Regions from separate parts of the Homo sapiens genome. Here region 1 is linked to region 2. Evidence: promoter capture Hi-C in human tissues and cell types (Jung and others, 2019). All regions are on one chromosome and are shown on one strand. Each heading gives the region's core, a stretch centred on a gene start or on the middle of the fragment in contact. The rest is flanking DNA. Distances are from core to core; before and after follow the strand shown.

Region 1 (4,376 bases), core at 978-3,477, 160 kb after region 2:
TGTAACGGGGTCTGGGGACCAGGATGGGCCCAGGCACAGCAGGACCCAACGACATGAGAAGGGGCCCGTATCTCTGTCCAAGTCCAGGCTGGAGGCTGCTGCCAGGCACGTCTTACAGTCGCTGCGTCTGCCCAGCTTAGCAGTCCAGGGGAGAGGAAAGTGCCCAGCCCTGTGGCCCTAGAAATGTGTCCCGGGGAAGCGTCTGATGGGCTCCTCTGGGGCAATCCCCGTGGCTGGGGAGTGGGCTCACCTAGGTCAGGTGCCCACCCAGAGACCTGGGCAGACTGGACCGTGGGATCAGGCATAGTCAGATGACAGCAAAAGCAGAGGTCTGTTGCCAGAAAGGAGGGAAGGGCATAAAGTGGGATGGCCCCAAGGAAGGTGCCCCTGAGGTCCCATCAGCCACCCCGGAGACGAGAGACGCTCATTCCCCGTGTGTGTGTGAAGGCGCGTGGTGTGGGGTGCGGGAGACTGTGTAACAGGCATTGCAGTGTGGAGGTTTCACCCAGTCGTTTTCATAAAACTTGGCTTAAACCCTTGGCCCCAATTCCCACCCCCTTGATGGAGGCAAAGGCTGTGGCTTGGAAAGACGACATCACCATGGTGCTTAGTGGGGCAAACCCAGTTTTATAGACAGTATTGAGGTGGCCTTGAGCACCCTATGTACCAGGCAGTGCCCTCTCACCCTGGAGGACGCAGCTAGACCCCCAGGCTCTAGGGGAGAAGGCCCATCCCATGGGCCAGGTGGGGCAGAGGCGAGGCTGTCAGGAGACGCGGCACAGGGATGGGCCTGGAGCTCTGGAGGAGTGCGAGGGCCTAGCAGCGGCTGTGACCTGGGGACGAGGTTGTGACTGTGGCAGCTGGCTCTTCCCAGGGGCTGGGTGGCCCAGGAGCTCAGTCGGTTGCCCGTGAATGTGGCCCAGTGCACACCTGGCCCCAGGTTCCATGTGAGGAGGCCCCAGCAGGAGGGGACAAGACGGTCTTGGGCTCAGCCCCATGAAGCTTACGTTCTAGTGCAGGAGAGCGATGGAAGCCAGAGGAGCCGGTGGGCAAACGAACAGAATCCCAAAAAGCTGTGGGTCCAACCACAGACCCAGCTCCACCTCCCACGTCCCTCCACAGCGTCCAGGCTGGGGGTGTCCTCGGTCCTGGGACCATGCCTGGCCCTACTAGGCCTGGCCCTGAGATGCCTTGACATTCAAAAATCAGCCAGGAGTGTGTGGATGGTGATGACTGTGTAAGTATCACTCAGGGTGAGGCCAGGCCTGCCGTGACGTCTTCTCCCACAATCCCTGGGAATTTGAGGGTAACTGCAGAGCAAGTGGGTTATTTTTTTGTTTGTTTGAGACAAGGTCTCGCTCTGTCGCCCAGGCTGGAGTGCAGTGGCATGATCTTGGCTCACTGCAGCCTCAAGCTCCTGGGCTCAAGCAATCCTCCTGCCTCAGCCTCCTGAGTAGCTAGGACCACAGGCATGGTCCAGGGTTTCGCCATGTTGCCCAAGCTGGTCTCAAACTCCTGGGCTCAAAAGATCTGCCTGCCTCTGCCTCCCAAAGTGCTGGGATTCCAGGCGTGAGCCACCGCCCCCAGCCAAATGGGTTCTTTACTCATTCTCCACTCATTGTTCCAGATCATATCACATTTCAGTCTTTCCCCAAGTCTCCTGTGTGATTTCTTGTTTTCGTGGAGATTTAATGACCCAATTTTTATATGTATGCCTTTATTTATCATTATTTTTCTCCCTCAAAATCGTTGTTTCTCCATCATAACATCCATTCTGTCCCACCCCCTGCTGCCCAGAAGCCTCCCCGCATCCCCTGGTGTCTGTTCCAGTGTGGACTGGTTGTCCCCAGGTCTGCTCCACTATTCCCGACCTTCCCTTCCCTCCACACAGAGCTGGATCTACAGAGTCATAGTGCCTGTGTTTCCCTTTCTTTGTTTTGCCACCTGCTCCTGCTGGAGCACATCCTCAAGTAACTTCCTAGCAACAAGGGTATGAAAAACAAATACGTGTGCTCTGGCATTTGTGAAAATGTTTTTATTCTGTCCTCTCACTTGATAAACCATTTGACTGTGTATAGAATGCCAGGTCGAACATTACTTGCCTCAGAACCGAGAAAGCATCTTCTCCCCAGACTCCAGTGTTGCCAGTGAGATCTAGAAAGTCAATTAGTTGGGTGTGGTGGTGCGTGCCTGTAGTCCCAGCTACTCTGGAGGCTGAGGCAGGAAGATGGCTTGAACCCGGGAGGCAGAGGTTGCAGTGAGCCGAGATCGAGCCACTGCACTCCAGCCTGGTGACAGTGAGACTCTGTCTCAAAAAAAAAAAGTCCTTCTGATTCTGCTCCCTTTGTGGCTCACCTGTTTTCTTTTCCTGGAAATTTGGAAGCCATCCATGGAGATTGGAAATTCAGCAACGATGCCTCTGGCTATGGGCTATTTTCCTCCCACCATCCAGGGAAGGCCACAGGAAATGGAAGAAATCGTGACACTGGTGCTGTACCATCTGTTCTGTGAATTCCCTGGCCATCGTCTCCCTCTGTTTCCTGTGTTTCTTATTGGGACTCTGTCTGTCCGATATTAGGTCCTCTGGTTTGGTCCTTTACTTTTGTTTTAATCTAAATTCTGGTGGATGTTCTCGACTTTATTTTCCATATTCTCTGCTGAAGTTTGTATTTTGGCAATTGTATTTCAACCTCCCAGTGTTCTTTCTTGTTCTCTCATTGTTTCTATTTGTGTCTTCCTATGATTGTGATATTTTCATGAGTCCTCTGAGCACTTTCATTAGAAGTTCTTGTTTTTAAGCTTAATGTGCTGGGACTTGTTTCAAGAGCCCCTGCTTCCCCTGAGGTCCATGCTGCCGTTTCAGGCTGTTGGAGGGATGCTGGGCAGGGGCAGGCGGGAGCAACCTCTGCTCTTGTCTGAGTAGCTCTTCTTTCCCCTGGGGTAGGACAAGGTGTCACCTGGAAGCTCCGCTTTGAGGGAATGGCAAAGCGGCCACCTCTCCCGCTTGGTGTCCCAGGAGCTGGAAGGAGACAGGCCTTTGGGGGGCCTGCTGGTATCCACAGGCAGTTCTTTTGAGTTGCTTGGAGAATAATCTAATTTACTTCCTGGGGTATAAGCTTCCTGTCTTCACTCCAAGTGAGGAATTGGGGGTGAGGGGCAGTTGTCCCCTCCAGCCCCTCCTCTCACACCTGCCTTTGGCTGTCCCTGGGCTCTGAGTCCGGAGCCCACCCTGCTTCACCCCTGCGGCCACTCGTGGAGACGCCAGGCTGTGGGTTTCTCTTCCGTTCACCGAGAGTCCACTCCCATTCCTTTCCATGGTCCAGAAACTGGTTGGCGTCTCTCACTGCTTGGCACCTGTATCCCTCCCAAGCTCCTTCCTGGCATGAACCAGTTCTCACTTGTTCTTCTGTGGGGTCTCAGGAGGGGTGAGATGGGCACAGAGCCTGGTAATTCCACTGGGGTTTGGATAAGCCAGGAAGGGATACGATGAGACAGGCATTTTAGGGGGGCCTTTGGAGGCCGCTCAGAGGATGGGCTGGATAGGGGAGGCGCTCACAGTAAGGAGGGCAGGTAGGAGGTCACCACCGGCCCCAGGGCAGTGAGGATGAGGCTGACTGCGGCTTGAGAGGGCTGTCCCACGTGACACAGTGGAGGGGTGGACTGTGGCTTATTCATCTCCACTGAGGCAAGGCTGGGCATAGGACAGGCTGTGAGGACAGTGAGCGGAAAGGAGACAGGAAGGTGGGGCGTTTCTGGTGGGGTGAGGGTGGCACTCCTGCAGACCCTCAGTGGCTGCTACAGCAGAGAGCCGGGGAGGTGAGGTGGCCTGCTCCCTCGCCACCCACGGAGGAGTGGGCCCTGCTCATCCCTGGCTTTGCCCGTCCACTGGTGTGATTCACTGTCGCTTACCCTGGAGAGACGGCTGCCCCAGGTTTATTTATTTATTTATTTTTAAATTTTTTTATTTTATTTTATTTTTTGAGACAGAGTCTCGCTCTGTTGCCCAGACTGGAGTGCAGTGGCGTGATCTCGGCTCACTGCAAGCTCCGCCTCCTGGGTTCATGCCATTCTCCTGCCTCAGCCTTCCCAGTAGCTGGGACTACAGGTGCCCACCACCGCGCCCGGCTAATTATTTTTTATTTTTTAGTAGAGACGGGGTTTCACCATGTTAGCCAGGATGGTCTCGATCTCCTGACCTTGTGATCCGCTCACCTTGGCCTCCCAAAGTGCTGGGATTACAGGCATGAGCCACCGCGCCTGGCTAGGTTTAAACTGGACAGCTTCCCGGGGCCAGCCTACAAGCGGCGCCCACAGGGCCGGAGAGGCCATGAGATGATAAGATGCAACCTCTGCGTTTGTCAAAGAGAGCTCCGGGT
Region 2 (4,218 bases), core at 1,096-3,595:
GCTGAGCGGGGCCACAGGAGCCCGCACCGGGTCCGCGGAAGGAACTCACACTCCTGCTTCAAGGTGTGGAAGGCGACCCAAGAGGCGGTACACAGACCGCGAGGGAGCGTGCTGTGAGAAGCTCAGGGAGACAGGGCCTGGGAGGCCAGGTGAGGTGTGGGCACAGCCAGGGAGAAACACTGGTGACCCGAGACGCACGGGAACTCGCAGTCACTTGACCAAGTAGCGGCCACGTTTGCGCCACACTTCCATAAACGTGACCAGTAAGGAAGCGACAAGCCTGAAGGGTCCTGACCATTTATTACTCAGGGTACAGCATGTCCTTATCCCTCTGCCTTGTCCCCCACATCTCAGGGGGCAAACAGAGCAGGTTTGTGTCAGCCGAGGAAACCCTTGATCTTCTAAGGGGACTGCTAGCCATCTCGCCCCCATCTTTGCCACAGAAAAGACGGTATCCTTTTGCCCTGGAAGATAAACCAACGTCTCGGGGAGAGGAGGGGCCGCAGGTTTATTTCCCAGAAATGTGTGCAAATCTGCAGACACAGCAGGGAGGTTTTGCTCTCCTGCATGCCTCCAGCGGGCTCTGGCTTGCAAGAATGTCTCATGCAGGCATTCTTCCAGTGCCCTGTGCTTTGAAAAATACGCAGAAAAGCCAGAATTATGGAGGGCAGCCTCCTGGGCTTGTGGGTGTTGGGCAGGTGGAGGGAGACGTATGGAATCTTCTGGTCTCCAGGCAGCTGTGCAGTGCACCGGTCGGTGGGATCAGTCAAGGAGGTTCAGAGCAGGATGGAGGAACCGCTCCAGGGATTTCCAGCAGAGAGGGGTTTGTTGCAGGGAAGGAGATGGATCCTGGGACCCTGGAGTTCGCACCCCTGCTCTGTCTGCTGCAGTGCTCCGGGGGTACACAGCCCAGCCCAGGGTCGCCCCGGTCATGTGCCCCCAGCACCAGCCCCTGGGCCTTTTATATGTTTCTGGGATGCTGCCTGTCTTCCAGTGCCATCAGGAAAGGCTCGGGGAGCTGGGCCTCACTGGACGCCATACCCCTCCCGCTGGAACAGTGCGTAGGTGTTCCGCCCTCCAGGGCAGACTGACCGCAGGATGAACGCCCCCGCCCCACAGGTGCCCAGCGCTTCACAGCTCACAGAGCCCTTCGACCTCCCTGGCCTGGGATGACCCTCTCAACACCCCCAGGAGGAGACACCGGTGCTGCCTTCAGCAGGGAAACCTGGGCTTGGATAGGTGCAGCGGCTCCTCCAAGGTGGCCAAGCTGCCTGGCCCTCGCTCATGAATTCTGAGTAGCCCCTCCTGTCACTGCCACCCACTGCTCTCCCCGGAGGCCTGTGTGTCCTTTGTTCTCTCCTGAGGATGGCTGTGGCCTCCTCCTGTTCCTGACAGGGCCCGGTGCCCACTGGCTCATGTCAGAGTTCAGGCCTGAGGGGAGGGGTGTTTGTGCTAACAGGAGGCAGAGGGCAGCCTGCCAGTCTGGCCCTGTGGCCACCTGAGCTGTCCCCTGGGACCCGTGGCTTCATGACTCTGACCCAGTGGATGCTGTCTTCATAGTCTGAGTGGGAGCCAGGTTTGACCTTGGAGTGCCTGGGGCATAGAGTCCCTGTCCTCTGGAGGAAGAGATGGTCATCCCTTTTCATGCTGACTGGCCCCAGGGCAGGACCTGCTCTTTTGGACCCTAAAAGGGACAAGGCCTGGTGGCAGAGCAGAGCTGGGGCTCAGGAGAGGGAGACGGGTGGGAGGAAGGGAGGAAGAGGAAGAGAAGGAGGAAAGGGGGAGATGAGGAAGGGGGAGGAAGAGGAGGAGGAGGAGAAGGAAGAGGAGGAGGAGGAGATGACTCAGGCACCCACGGCATTACTGTGGCAGGCTGGCCCTCGGTTTCCCCAGCAGTAAATGAAGAGATGGGGTCAAGGGGCCCAGGCCCCCTTCCAGATCTGAGACCTGCGCATCAGGCTGTCTGTATTCAGAGGAAGCCGGGGATGGCAGCTCCCAGCCGTGGGCTCGGCCTTCATTCACTGTACAGGCTCATCCATTCACCCAGTGAACCCTCCCGAGTCCCTTCATGAGGGCGGCCTCGCAGGGACTTTGGTCTCGGCTCTGCCCTGTCCTGGCCTTGGGACCCTGGGTGAGCTGAGGCAACCCAGTTTCCTGGTCTGTGACTCCAGGCTCTGTCCTCGCCCCATCGCCCCCCATCGTGGCACAGGTTCGAGGGTGTTGGCTTGCCTGGCCTCCTGAGGGCCTTCTGGGGTTAAAGTCTTCTATCCTGAGGCTGAGACCAGGGCTGGGGAGGAGGTTCAGCCCCTGTGGACTTTATCCTCCCTCTCCACGGCTGAGTCTTGATTTACAGCTGGAAGGGCAGACGGAGGCATCTTGGTGTATACACAGCCCTGCTGGGCCACATCCCGGGTCTCCTCCCTCTGCGATGCCATAGCAGGGGCGCCTTCCGAAAGCCCTCTGGATTGAGGCAGCAGGATCTATGGTGGAACCTGCCCCGGCGTCGCCAACGCCCCTAGGACCCCAGCACACTGACTGGGGAGCATCCCTGTGTCGTTTCTGCCCGGAGAGGAGCAGAGGCCAGGCTGCTGCTCTGGGAGGTGAGTGTCATGCCTGGGAACACAGCGGGGACCCCAGGGAGGGAGAGCAGGTGTTTGCTCCCTGGGCTCTGCCTGGTGGTCCTGACAGCAGTCCTGACTGTTGCGAAGGCTGTTTTTTGGTGGCTTCCTTAGGGTCCTCGCTGTGCTCTCGGTCCCAGCACTGTCTGCTCTCCTTCCTGGTTATTTGAATGACCCGGCTCCTGTTGCTGTATCCCGGGTCCTGACCTCCCCTGAGATGGACTCTGTTCAGGCTAGACTGCCTCAAGGGACCCGCTTCAGTCTATTTGTGGCAGAAAAGGTTAGCTGGCTCCTGGGAAATGTCAGGGGATAAGTCAAAGCTGGCCAGCGGCAAGGCCCAGTGACGCCCTGTCATTTTATGACTCCCTTTTCTTAATCAGTCGAGGAGAAAAACAAGCAATGAAGGATTTTCCATGGCAACCACCAGCAGGGCAGTGTTCTCTCCCTACCTGAGCTTGTTTTAAGAAGAGGGGTCTGGCCAGAGGCTGCTGACCCTGGCCCCAGAGGGCAGGGGTCGAGTGTCCTGGAGTGTGACTCCCAGGCACCTGGGCTTGGGCTGGGCCCCTGGAGCAGGCGCAGCTAATCTGGCCAATCTACTCCTTCACACTCATGGAGCAAATGGGGAAACAACCCAGAGAGGGGCAGCCCAAGGAAGCAAATTTGTAGAGCCTGACACTCTGAGAGAGCTCTCAGAAGGATACTAGTCTTCTAAACCAGAAACTTATTCATATAATAATAATAATGTTTATAATAATAACATTATTAATTCCTTCACCATCCACCCACTTACTCACCCTCTTACCCATCTGTCCATTCAACTCATCCACCCCCACATCCAGCCAGCTTCCATCCTATCATACATTCATCCACCTACCCGTCCACCCTTTCATCCTTCCTTTCTTTCATCACCCACCCATCCTCTCACTCATTCATTCATCCATCCACCCATCCATCCATCTACCCATTCATCCACCCATTCATTTATTCACTCTCCCATCCACCCATCCATTCACCCTTTCTTTCTTTCATCATCCATCTATCCACCCATCCATCCATTCATCCACATATTCGTCCACCCATTCATTATTCACTTATCTATCCATCCTTCCAACCATCCATCCATTCATCCACCTATTCTATTCACCCACCCATCCTTTCATGCTTTCTTTCTTTCATCATCCATCCATCCATCCATCCATCCATCCATCCATCCATCCGTCCATCCATCCATCCACCTATTCCATTCACCCACCTATCCATTCATTCACTCACTCATCCATCCATCCACCCATCCGTCCTCCCTTTCTTTCATCACCCACCCATCCATTCACTCACCCATCATCCATCCACCCAGCTAGCCAGCTTCCATGTCTATATCCAACTACTCACTCATCCATTCACCCATCAACCTAACTAAACTTGTTTTCTCCCATGTAACACAATACTTATCCACCCATCCATCCGTCAACCTACCCAACCACCCCATAACACGCCCACATCCTTCCCTTTGCCCATCTGTACACATACTTATCTACCTCTCCTATACCCATATACCCATGACATCCACTCACCCATTCATGCATGATCCTCCTACACATTC

What was found. Contacts are between HindIII fragments. The study calls those that stand out against the background at their distance.
Region 1: a contact is called between a fragment that was not itself captured here and the fragment with the promoter of LINC00955 in region 2, in 6 of the 25 tissues and cell types used here (dorsolateral prefrontal cortex, heart right ventricle, lymphoblastoid cells and 3 more).

What each region holds. Positions count from the first base shown.
Region 1 is chr4:3,734,538-3,738,913 of GRCh38, forward strand. No RefSeq gene overlaps it. Among named protein-coding and RNA genes, the nearest start is that of ADRA2C, 30 kb to the right of the region's middle. The HindIII fragment of the contact is 4,235 bases long and covers 111-4,345 here.
Region 2 is chr4:3,574,524-3,578,741 of GRCh38, forward strand. It overlaps LINC00955 (long intergenic non-protein coding RNA 955), which reads left to right and starts at 2,346. Exons shown (of 3, transcript NR_040045.1): 1 at 2,346-2,600. The HindIII fragment of the contact is 13,427 bases long and covers 1-4,218 here.